Regions from separate parts of the Homo sapiens genome. Here region 2 is linked to region 1. The links are contacts of gene promoters, found by promoter capture Hi-C in human tissues and cell types (Jung and others, 2019). All regions are on one chromosome and are shown on one strand. Each heading gives the region's core, a stretch centred on a gene start or on the middle of the fragment in contact. The rest is flanking DNA. Distances are from core to core; before and after follow the strand shown. Region 1 holds the start of MCTP2 (multiple C2 and transmembrane domain containing 2). Region 2 overlaps LINC02207 (long intergenic non-protein coding RNA 2207).

Region 1 (5,971 bases), core at 3,333-5,832:
TCTAGCGAAAATGTGAGCCATTGGAGGGCAGAAGCTATCATATTTGTGTTATATCCACAGAGTTTATCACAGAGCTTAATATATGGATCAGGGGATTCAAACTGGTTGCCAGGCTTTCGGCCACCTGTATTTTTTAGCCAGCACAGGGTTAACAATAAGTAAATTTGAATGTCTTTAGGTGGGCCTACTCTCTGCTATTTGCCACAGTCTCTATCTTCTTATATGTGACCACAGTCAATCTCTATTTCACCAGTCTCACCCATGTAGGCACCCTAGTTTGTGGTCCTGGTTGTAGATGATGAATACATGCTAATTATGTGAATGAATACATCAATGAATGTACTTCTTATTTTGCATGGAGAATTGATTGTTATCTAAATATTCTTGTCCTGAAAATTCCCCTAGTTTCATCTCTCATTTTGGAAAATACAGGTAGAAAAACAGATAACTGTAATGTGCAATGCACAAATAAGCATTTCTGAATACTTGCCAGAGGTGAGCCACTCTGTGCATTCTAGTGGCTCAATTAGAGAGGAAAACAAATTCAACTGTGTTATTTGCAGAACCCATAAGATGCAAACAAACCATTTGTTGTGGAAAAGCTCAAGATTTTTGTATCTGAGATGAGTGATAACTTCTACCTTGGATCATCTTAAAACAGGCAGTGTAATTTTAAAAAACAATGACCCCGACCAACATGCCAAATGTATGTTCAACAACGTATTTCCCAAGGTAGATTCTTAAGATACCCCCCACTATTGCCAATGACAACACACTAGAGAACAATTCAATAAATGTGATTTGGGGCCACAGAAATTCTCTACAGTATGAACCTCTCCCCTGGCCTAGGGGAAGTTTTAAGCAATTAACTGAATGAAATTCAGATCGTCAGACAAAAATGTTGGTACTGAGATAGTAATCTTGGGCAAAGTTAACCTTCATCTGAAGAAGTAAATTTGGTTCTTCTTTACCCATCTAATGAATGGCAGACTCAGTCTCTTAAGAGTTAACTCCAAGCCTCTAATAATTTTAACTTTTCAGAAGCAACCACTACCAGATGTTCATTTTGGCCATAAAAGTTCCCACCCAATAAAGGTACAACATCCATAAAAGTCGATCTTTGAACAACTTACTACCTGTGAACATTTCCAGCTAATCAGCTTGTGTTAAATACATGTTTAGGTATTTGAAAGAAAAGAACTTGATACATAGAATCATCATTAGGACAATTCAATGCTGATGTTGATTTCCAAAGAGATTTTATAAGAAGTCTTTCTGAATAATTAGAGAATAGGACTCATTTTCTGTTAGGTCCATTCTTTTGTTCAAGAAAGTGAAGCCTACAGGATAAACTCGTAACTAGTAAGTGGCAGAGCTAGGTCTGGAGTGAGTCACTAAATTTGGTCTCTCCACACCTGCCTATAAAAAGGGGATAACATGATAATTATACCAAAGGAAAAAAAATCCTGAGTACATATAATAACAAAGACTATTTGCACTAACAATAAAAGAAGTACCATTTCTCAACGCCACGTAACAGAGTGCATATTCTTCCTTAAAGCACACACTAAAATAAACATTTGTTACTTGGACAATAGACTGAAGTTTGCTTTAACCATTATATTCGTTTTAACCCCTGGTAGATCTAAATTGACATGTTTATGTCTCAGTCATTTTTCTACTTCTGCTCTTATCGGCCCAGAAATGATGAGAAGCACCAACGAAGGAAAATGTGAGGGAAGCTAGGTGCCAAGCCCTTACATTACTGCTAGCAGATCTCAGACAGCTTTCTCTTTGACATAAAGGGACTTGTCCCAGCAAGATTAGCTCTGTGTCCTCCAAATGGAGCCAGACTGTGTTGACTGCATGGCCAACTCTGATAGGATGACCCAAGGAGGCTCCCACTGAGCAGAGAAGATATGGAACTCTAGATCCTATGCATTTACAGACAGGGTCTTGTCTTCTTTAGAGAAGACTGCTTTAACCCTCATTGTCAAAGACTCTGGGTGGCTACAGCAATTTTCATTTGTTTCATTTGAAATACTCTGGCTCATTCAAAAAGGCACAGGGACGTGGCTAGATAACTGCACTAATTGTTATCTAGCCTTTGTATGCACTTAACCGTGCTTCTGCATGTATGACAGGCAGTATAGCCATGATAGCCAAGGAGTACACTGGGCCTTCAGAAGACACATCTTCCATTTACAATTTAAAAGAAGAGGTGCCAATATTAGATTGTCATGCAACCAAACATACATTGTCTAAGATATAAAAGCAATTGTATCTGAAAGTGGGAAATCTCCACCTCAATTATCACATTGACAATAGGGGCATTTCTTCAGAGGCCAAATATCTGGTTGCTCAGAAGAGAGAGAAAGCTGCCTATGATACGTGCAGGAGATTTTATTTTTTTTTAAGTATAATTATGACATCACTGACCAGTGCCTATAATGTAAGACCTGGTTCAAAATCTGTTTAGAGAAATTCAATATAACAAAAGTGTGTTAAAAATTTATCAGCTACATGTATGAGTCCAGTTGCCATTCTAAATGCTGGTGTGGTTATGTAGTAAAGTTAAATTGGTATAAGCAACAATATTATTCCCTGGAAGGGACATTTCCTGGGTGGAACATAGAAAAGGAGACAGGTAATATGTTTGAACAATTAAAAACAAAAAACCCAGGAAGCTGGGCAGATGAGTGTATTGTGGTGGGAAGGGCAAGTTGTGACCTTAGATTTCTGTATCTTTAGTTGTTTCACTTTCTATACCATTTAATGATTGAAAAATGCGGTTGGACTGCCGGAACCACAGAACAGGAACTCCACTGGGGCAGGAGTTAAAGGCAAAAAAGCTTTTGTGTGGGTTCACTTACTATTTTAATTCATTTGTATTCTTAGTCAGCTTTAAAGGTATGATTGCTTCGTCTGCCTACTGCTCTTTCTCTTCTTCCTTTCATGCTGTTTTACCCTTACCTCTCTCTGTTCTCTGCTAGGGGATGTAACCTTCGGCACGGTGGGAAAAGCCAATTTTGCCATAGGCCTCAGCTTGCTCTGACTCGGCTACTAACTTGACTCATAGCTTCAGGCAGGTTATTTCATGGTTCTGATGCTCATTTTCCTCATCTTGAATCAGAGATTTTATTAACTGTCTCCTGGTTTGTGAAAATTCAATATGATCACGTGTTACATGCCAATCACAGAAACTGGTGCGAAGTTGTGTTCCTCAGTGGTAGCTATTGTTGTAAGTCGGAATTGCATGACAGTGGCAGCTGTTTTCTATCACGTCCTCATGTTTTCTAAATTTTTATGCCCCTTCCTCCCATTTCCTACCTTAGTATTGTTAATAGCTAACTTTTATTAAGTGGTTACCATGGCCCAGGACACTGTAATGAGGATTTTATGTGAATTACCTAATTAATTTCTCAGAAAGTATGAGATAGCTATTATTTTAAGCTATTTAAGCTATTTTAAGCTATTTAAACAACCAGTTTGTTGAAGTTAAAATTTAGAGAGGTTAAGTGAACTCGTCCATTTACACAATTAGTTGCCCAGGCAGAATTTGATTTGAGGTCTGACTCCAAAGCCGGAGCTCTTAATCACCAGTGACACCAACTAAACGCTTCATTTCAGAGCTCGCCTATTCCCAGAGGTCCCATTCCCGTTTTAAGGTTATTTTCTGTAACTCTCTTGTATCTAATTTAAAAATGCTATTTCCCAGAGATGAGTCCCTGATCTCCCAGAAGGCATGGATCATACATTTCTTTTCCTAATCCACCCAAATTCCTAGAGCGCACAGACTTAGGCTCGTTCATAGACGGGAAAAGAAACTGACCAGGCAGTGAAACCGAGCAAACAAAGTGCAATAAGACAATTACAGCAGGAAAGCGGCGTAAAAAAAAGTAGAAAAAGAAAGTAAGGGAAAGGGGAAATAAATAGCAAATATTCGCTGAGTGCCAACAATCGCACGGGAGGGTCTTTAGGGTTCTCTGCCGAGTACTCGGGACGGCTTGCTGAGCAGTACGCCGGCCTTATCTCATAGATGAGGCACCAAGGCTCAGGAAACAGTTCTGTGGATCTGGGCGGGCATCTTCCACCCACAGTCGCGCACACGTGGCATAGGTTAATAGGCTGTCTGGCTCGGGTACCTCTTCCCAGGGTCAGGGCGTTACAAAGGGAGGCTGCTGTCTTCCCATGAATCTATTAGGGACCTACAGGAGCGAAGAGAACCCTTCTGAGTATCAGCGAAGACAGCTTATTAAGACTTTACGAGTTTGCAAGCCATCCTCGTCCTATTTCCTCACTTCGGACTTTTTGGACACACCTTCCTTTTCCTGTGAGCCAACCCAAACGAATGAGTTACAAGTAATCGCCTTCTCTACGCCCAGCCAGTGCCCAGCACCAAGCATAGCGCCTCCTTGCAACACCCGGCCGAGCTCCCGGCGGCAGCGCGGGCGCTTGGGTCGGAGGCTGCTCAAAGGTGACGCGCGGCCGCCTCCTCCCCTTTAGGCGGGGCTCGCAAGGGCGGTGGGGGGGCCCGAGGAAGTCCGGGGGCCCTCGGTGATGCCCCCGCCCCCGCCGCGTCAGGGTTGCTCCCTGCGCTTCCGAGTGGCGACTGCAGCGGGTCCGGTGCAGGTGAGGGGCGCGCGCCTGCCCAGCTTTGCAGCCCCCGAACGCGGCCTCGCACAGGTGAGGGCGGTGCCGGGTTCACCTGGCAGCGCGCGTGGGCCGGGCAGCACGGTCGCCGCCTGGGGGTGGGCGTCTTCTCTCAACCGAAGCTGGGAGTTGGGGAGCTGGAGGGTCCAGGATGAGAATTCAGTGGCGCTACTACCCCGGAGCTGCTTGTGGTTCAGAGATCAGAAAGGTGTCCTGAGGACTGGAGGCAGAAATCCAGGCGTGGCGTACTGGAAGGCGCACTAGGGGAGGGCAGCCTGGCCCAGAATTTCTTTGCATTTTAAAGGCCACACATTCAGTCTCCCCGGGGCGCTACGGAGGTAGTCACCGCCACATCCAGGACTCCTTCCACAGAGGTCAGTTCCTCAGCTGGGTGGGCTTTAATACGCTCTCTTCGTAGAGACCCGGAGGTTCAACTTTAATTCTTTGCGCTGACATTTGCTCAACGACACCGGAGCAGAAATCCTTGGGATAATTGCGTAGGTAACAAACAGTGTCTCAATCCCACTGAAGATAAGTAAGTTAAAAATAAAGACAGTGATGTTGGTGGTGAACTTGAGTGGCGATTAGTTTCCGCAATTAGTTCCCTCCTGCACTGTCCATTTGTTAAGCAAATGTGCTGACGGCTTTTTTTAAATGATTGGGTTGCCATAAAAGAGGTTTTCTCTAGTCTGAATGAACTTCTGTGCGATGCTGACTGAGGGTTTCAGCCTCCTCTAGATGCTTACAAGAGCTTGGTCTGGAAGGTACAAGGGTGCGAACCCTTAAGGTACCAAGCAGCTTCTCAGTGAACCGTGAGACGTTAGAACACTTGCTTCAGGACGCACAGAATTCAGACACCACTTATTGAAGGATTTGTATGGATTATAATTTACATTAGCATTCATTTTTTGCTTGAGTCAGTAGCATTTCAATTCAACAAATATTTATTGTACACCTGTTAACGGGCAGACCTCTGAGAGCCGGGCTGGTGTGCTGTTGGGTAGCACAGGTGTTGATATTAATACAAAGGGGAATCTTAAGGCACTTATTCCTCACAGGTGGGTGTTTAGAACGAGACCAATGGTGCTGCGCTTTGCCTCAGCAGCACCTGTGTAATCGCTGGTTATAAGTATTTAAATGCAGGGAGAATGTAAATCTTTGAAGAGTCTCTGTCATTAGCCTGATCAGTCATTCCAAAGCAATAAAAATTGTCAAAACCATGCTTAAAATAAGATTATTAAGAATTAGCTCTGTGCCAAGCACCATGCTAGGCACTTTGTCTTGTCTATGAAATCTACAAAGTAGATACTATTCCCCT
Region 2 (6,771 bases), core at 2,571-5,070, 350 kb before region 1:
TGATTATTGTACCTTAGGCTTAGAAGTTTAGTTTCATTCTTTAGTTTATAATATGCTATATTATATTTTATCATTTTTTGTTTGCTGTTACATTTTCAAGCTTACCTTTGTTTCTCTGCACATAGTACAATCACTTATTTTAAAGACTGATCACACAAAATTTAAATATTTTGTGGGTCAGCTTCTCTTTTTTGTTGGCTCTTGCTCATGATGTCTTTCGTTTCTCTGTTACCTGGAAATCTTTAACTCTATATAGTTATTTGTAGAAATAATTTGAATATCTTTAAATAAATACCTTACTTAAGGGAAGATTTGGATTTGCTTCTGAGAAACTCGTAGGGAAGTACTAACTCAGATAGATCTTAAAACAAATTCAAGGCTGGAGGATCACTGGGAGATCTACAGATGAAACTTGGTTACAATTCCTCCTAAGGACTGGGCCTCTTCTCATTCATTCTTATCCTGACTACATTGTGTTGAATCTTCCTATTGTTCAATTTCCGCATCTGTAAAATAGGCAAAAGAATACCTAGCTTGCTGATTTGTTGTAAAAATTAGAGGTAGCAAGCGTTGATACAGGAAAGTGATTTTTTTAGACTATTGTGGATAAATATCAACAGATGTTATGAACTAATTGGCTTGAATGTGTTTGATAATATAGGATGCTGTATCTATTCTAATTTTGTATTTCGTTGCTGCTTTAAATTTACTGAGAAACTACTCTTTTCATAGCTTTGACCCTTTTATACACATATTTGTAATCTTGAGCAACCAATATTGATGGATCTCTGCTGTGAGAGAGATGGTCCTTTAAGGAAATGTCATAAATACTTGATTTTGATGTTTCTATTTTTAAAATTTTGCAGTATTCACGGTAACTAGCCAATTTTAAGATATGAATACTATGTCAAGGATTTACTTTTTCTAACATTTAGTACTTGGAGTGGACAGAATGTATTTTAAGAAAAGATTTCTCCCTGTCTTAGTTGTTCCCCTTTGGCCTGTGAAGAGTGGAACAGGAGTTACACAAATAGAGATGATTGCCTCTCCATCCTGACAAAGTATGATAAAGACCACCGAAGTGTTGTACGCAAGAAAGCACAGGATGGCTGGGATGAGTGAACTATGTATCCCAGGTTTTACTTAGGCCTCAGCATCCAGTGGTAACCCTGTCAATTCTTTGCTCTCTCTGATCATTTGCAAGTATTGAGAGGAAGACACTATTTTGGGGTTAATTAGAATCATACAGTATTTATCTTTTGTGACTGGTTTATTTCATTGGTTTAATATCCTCAAGCTTCATCCACGTAGCAGTATATGCCAAAATTTCCTTCCTTTTTAGAGCAGAATATTTCATTGAATGCATGTGTCATATTTGGCTTATCTATTCATCTGTTGATGGACAATTCCATTGCTTTCATGTTTTAGGTTTTGTGAATAATGCTGTTACTAACATTGGTTTACAAATACATTGCTGAGACCCTACTTTCAGTTCTTTTGGTTATATACTTAGAACTGGAATTGCTGAATCATATGGTAATTCTATTTTTTAATTTTTTGAAGAACTTCCACACTGTTGCTCTAACTTCTATTATTTATTTGCTTCTGCTAGCTTTAGGTTTAGTTTATTCTTTTTATGGTATCTTAAAGTATGAAGCTAAGTTACTAACTTGGAATCATCCTTTTTTAAATTGATACATAATATTTTACATGTTTATGGGGTATATGTGGGTACATTTCTTACACGCATAGAATGTGTAATGATCAAGTCAGGGTATTGGGAGCGTCCATTGCCTTGAGTATTTATCATTTTTGTGTGTTGGGAACATTTCGAGCCCTCTCTTCTAGCTACTTTAAAATATATAATGCACTGTTGCTAACTATAGTCACCCCGCTCTGCTATCAAACATTAGAGCTTATTTATTTTAACTGTATGTTTATACTCATTAAATAATTTCTCTTCATCCTTCCTCCCACCCACACTCTTCCCATCCTCTGGTATCTGGCATTTTATTAATCACTTTCATGATTTTTTTTTTTTTTTTGAGATAGAGTCTCTCTCTGTTGCCCAGGCTGGAGTGCCATGGCAAGATCTCGGCTCACTGCAAACTCTGCCTCCTGGGTTCAAGCAAGTCTCCTGCCTCAGCCTCCCAAGTAGCGAGAGTTACAGGCATGCGCCACCAGGCCTGGGTAATTTTGTATTTTTAGTAGAGATGGGGTTTCACTATGTTGGTCAGGCTGGTCTCGAACTCCTGACCTCAAGTGATCCACCCACCTCAGCCTCCCAAAGTGCTGGGATTACAGGCGTGAGCCACTGCACCCGGTCGAGTTCTACTTTTTTAGCTCCCACATATGAGAATATGTGGTATTTGTCTTTCCTGTCCCTGGATTGTTTCATTTAACATAATGACCTCAAGTTTCATCTATATTGCTGAAAATAACATAATTGCATTCTTTTGTATGGCTAAATAGTATTCCATTGCGTGTGTGTATATATATAAATCTATATATATATATTTATATATACATATATAACAACATTTATGTTGTTCCTCTACATGGGTCATATTTCCCAATTTCATTTTATGCCTTTTTTTTCTTGTTGTTGTTAAAAATTGGGCATTTGAAAAAAGTGGACACTTCTCCCCATCTTTGCAAACTGATGTGGAAGACTGTTACTACTTAGTGGGCCCACCTATCCTTGACATTAGCCTGGGTTGAAGTCTTAATGTCTTTTCAGATCCTTTCTGGGTATGCATTCTGTCTGGGCCTCTGTGTGTGTGTGTCTGTCCCTGTGTGTTTCCAGGCTTGTTTTAAGTGTCTTAATTTCCCAAAATATCTCACTCTAGCTTTTTCTAGGGGGTTCTAAATGTTCTATTGCATTCCTTGGCCTGTAATCTCTTCACTCTAGATGTTCAATGGTCTGAAGTGCCTCTGTGGTTTTCATATACTACAGTAAGTACCACGGCCTTCTATGAACTGGAGCTTCCTAATCCACCCTCTTGCTGACATCACACTAAATATTCACTTTTGTAACTACTTTTATATTTCAAAATTTGCATCCCTTTTCAAAAAATAGGTTATACACCAAAGTGTGTGAGCGTTAGGCCCCTGAATCTGAATCTACATCTGGAAGTAAGAAGAAAGAAATTTTAACTGTGAAACAAGTTTGAATTTTCGTTATTTACATGAATTGCAAAAACAAGTCATTTATATCTAAAGGTGATAAAAGATTTTATTTTTATTTTTTGTTTTATGAAATCAACCCTCCTATCCAAAGTAACAGAAATAATCTATTCAGAGTCATGGAAAAAACAGAGTGGGCTGTTGGAATTGGAAAGAAACAAGTATGTGTGTGATCTATCTCTATCATCTATCTATCTATTATCTATCATTTACTTCATGGCTTAGTGTATGCCCATATATGTCCTTTAAAGGGGGAAATAATAATATTTAATCTGAGAACGTATTTATAATTTTGACAAGTGTTTGTGGACACTGGTTTTATAGTTAGGTAGACTTGAATTTATCCTAGGTCTGTTTTTGTTCACTCGGGAAAGTTGCTTATCCTCTAAATAACCTTGGTTTTCTCTATCTGTAAAATGACATCATAGAACATGTTTTAGGGTTGTGGTAAGAACAAAATGAGATAATTCAAGTAAAGGTTTTAGCATAATGCCTGACATGTAGAAAACACTAGCATTCAAAAAGGAGTCATTATTATCATTTTTACTATTACTTATTAATACATACTTGGAGAAGCAGGTAGTTTGGTGCTCTTACATTATCACTGAATAAATTGAGGCCAAGAGTTTAAATATTTTGTTCATAATTACTTAGGAATTTATGAGTATACCTTTAGCTTGTAAACTGTAGAAATTATTAACATCTTTGCCTTTCCATCAGTTCATTAAGAACTGCAAATTATAAATGTTTCTGGACTCTAAGCTGAGTATGCAGTATCTTATGAAAACATCAGGCAGGTGGGGTTGGATTTGGTATTTTTTCTAAGAATTTAGTCCCTTTATTGCTCAAATTACTGGAAAATCAATGACTTGTGCCAAACAAATTGTTTTCTTTCTCTAGACAAAAAGCAGATCAGCAAGTTTTCATATTGCACTATTTTCAATGGCTGGAGCATCAACATTTTACAACAAGAAAAAAATTAAAATTCTTCAACATTTGGAAAAGAAGTGTTTGTAAAACTTTTCACATCCATTCACCATCCGGAAAAGCAAGGTTTTACAGTGAGGCCTGATGATGTCTAGAGTCACCATGCATCTTGGAAAATGACCTCCTATTTATTTCTTCTACAGGACACCATGGTGTTCACCTTTCTACAACTTTACACTTGCTGAGGACATATTGTGGAAAATTAAGAGAAATATATATGGATGGCCAAGGCTGTAGATGGATGTCCAAGCCTTTTTACTGGGGAATGTTTTCAGAACAAAATGAGTTACAGGTTCAAGAGTGAAACCCAACAAATCTTGGCTCTTTTTTTCTCTACTAAATTCCAAATCAAAAGTATTTATGGAGTGCTTTTAATGTGCCACGCACTGGGCTAGAGATTCATAATTTTGATGGGAATCTGTGTATTCAAACTCTTTTAACGTGGAAACCTTGCTTGTGCAAGGTCCTCCCAGATCTTATCCTACTTTATCAAAGCTTGGCTAAATGCAACATGTCTTCTCCCCAGTGCCCTGGGTCTCTGTACACGCAGTAAAGTGGTCCTTAGACATATGCTGAAATAGGGCTTAATTTTCCCCATATACGAATGAGATAAATTCTACTACATGTAGCCAGACTTCGATAGGGAGAACACCCAAAGTCACTTAAAATAAAACTACACTTTCATTTTTGCAAGCCAAATAATCCTGGAGGAAATTGTGCTAATTTTTTTTTCAAATTTTCAGTTTACACATTGGAGTTTTGACTTCAATATGTAAAAAGTGCATGAAAATGAATGTAGTGCATCTTTCCTCATATGCTCTGCAGTGATGCGAACTGACTGCATGGCTAGCTGGTCACCTGATAAAGGGCACACAGAGATTCTTGTAGTTCATTAGGGATTACTCCGAGGTTGAACACAGGTTTTTCTTTTTCTCAGATATATAGGTAAGACTTGAACTTCAATTTCCTGCATAGTGAATATGGTTTCTATTGTCATGATTGAGCTTTTTTCATTTTAAACACTGAGAGCTTCTTTTGAGTTTGTGGGACCCACGCTTTTGGGCAAAGACTGCTTTCTCAAGGCACATATGTTCAGATGTTCAGGTCATGATGCAGAGGTATCAGCTGGGAGGTGCCCCAGGTAAGTTTGCTACTAAACTTCACCCACCCTCATCTGAGAGGCCACGTCTCTTCCCCTGAGTCTGGGGATCATGACACTTTATATGTCAGCTACTTTCTTTTTTCGTTTTATTTTATTTTATTTTTGAGATGGAGTCTCACTCTGTCTCTCAGGCTGGAGTGCAGTGGCACAATTTTGGCTCACTGCAACCTCTGCCTCCCAGGTTCAAGTGATTCTTCTAACTCAGCCTCCCAAGTAGCTGGGATTATAGGTGCACGCCACCACACCCAGCAAATTTTTGTATTTTTTTTTTTTTAGTAGAGACAAGGTTCTGCCATGTTGGCCAGGCTGGTCTCGAACTCCTGCCCTCAGGTGATCCGCTCGCCTCGGCCTCCCAAAGTGCTGGGATTACAGGTGTGAGCCACTGCACCCGGCCACATCAGCTACTATTTAATGAACATCTTTCCCTGGACAAGAACAAAACTCAAAGAAATCCAACAGATTGCAACTTAGTCCTGGGGAGAGAAAAGTCCACATGTTAAGCAGAAAGCTGAACCACATAGAATTCAACCTTTGGTGCCGCTAGTGTTGACAAGGAAGGATAGATTCTCTGAGCTAGAGTAATAAAGAAAGAGAAATGAGAAACTAGTATATCTCCAAAGGTTCTCAAAGTATTATTCCTGGACCAGTAGCATCAACATTCCCTGAAAATATGTTGGAATTAAAGATCTCAGCCTCCACCCAGACTTACTGAATCAGAAATTCTGGAGCAGGGTCCACTAATCCTTGTTTTAGTCTTCTGGGTGATTCTGATACACACTCAAGTTTGAGACCCTCTGTCTAGCTACACCATGCTCTTTTTACTTCAACTCATTATCCCCACAACATGATGCCATAATATAGGAGATTACATAGTGTCAGGCTTTGCTTAACTTAGGCTAAGTCTTTAGATAGATACAAAGAGGTCATTCAATTAGTGGTACCTATTGGATAGGGCTCTTATACCATCCATTTTGTTCCGGCAGTTCTTAGCTCAGTTCCTGGGACACAATAAATGATTAACAAATAGATAACTAGTTATTGAATGAGTGTGGATTGATGAAGTTTGAGTATACACACACACACACACACACAGACACACACAATGTGAGCCATACAAGAGAATGAACGGGAAAGCAAATTTCTTCTTGAATACTCATAAAATCAGCTTTTAATACCAAATATTATTTCTTTAGGCCATATCCCACTGGAGCCTGAATTGCTACAATAGCATTCTGGAGATTTTCCTCCTTTCTAGTATTGGCCTATCCTAATGTATTACATAACTAGCTTTCTGGAAAATATTCCTCAAGGATCACTTGCTTGCATAACTTACTTTAGAAATTCTTCAGTGTTTGAGTGTGTAGTTCTTTCTGTGCTGTGTGCCCATTGTATCTTGTGAATTCCTGTCTACTAAGGTAAATATCTGTCCACATGTC

What was found. The method cuts DNA at HindIII sites, captures the fragments that hold promoters and counts their contacts. A contact is called where the count stands out against the background at its distance.
Region 2: a fragment that was not itself captured here is called in contact with the fragment with the promoter of MCTP2 in region 1 in 1 of the 25 tissues and cell types used here (lymphoblastoid cells).

The regions. Positions count from the first base shown.
Region 1 is chr15:94,226,979-94,232,949 of GRCh38, forward strand. MCTP2 (multiple C2 and transmembrane domain containing 2) reads left to right here and starts at 4,583. Exons shown (of 23, transcript NM_001385001.1): 1 at 4,583-4,686. RefSeq lists an enhancer at 2,838-2,977 and a silencer at 4,513-4,642. The HindIII fragment of the contact is 15,455 bases long and covers 1-5,971 here.
Region 2 is chr15:93,873,948-93,880,718 of GRCh38, forward strand. LINC02207 (long intergenic non-protein coding RNA 2207) reads left to right here. Exons shown (of 4, transcript NR_120321.1): 4 at 4,087-4,409. Among named protein-coding and RNA genes, the nearest start is that of LINC02207, 21 kb to the left of the region's middle. The HindIII fragment of the contact is 6,244 bases long and covers 699-6,771 here.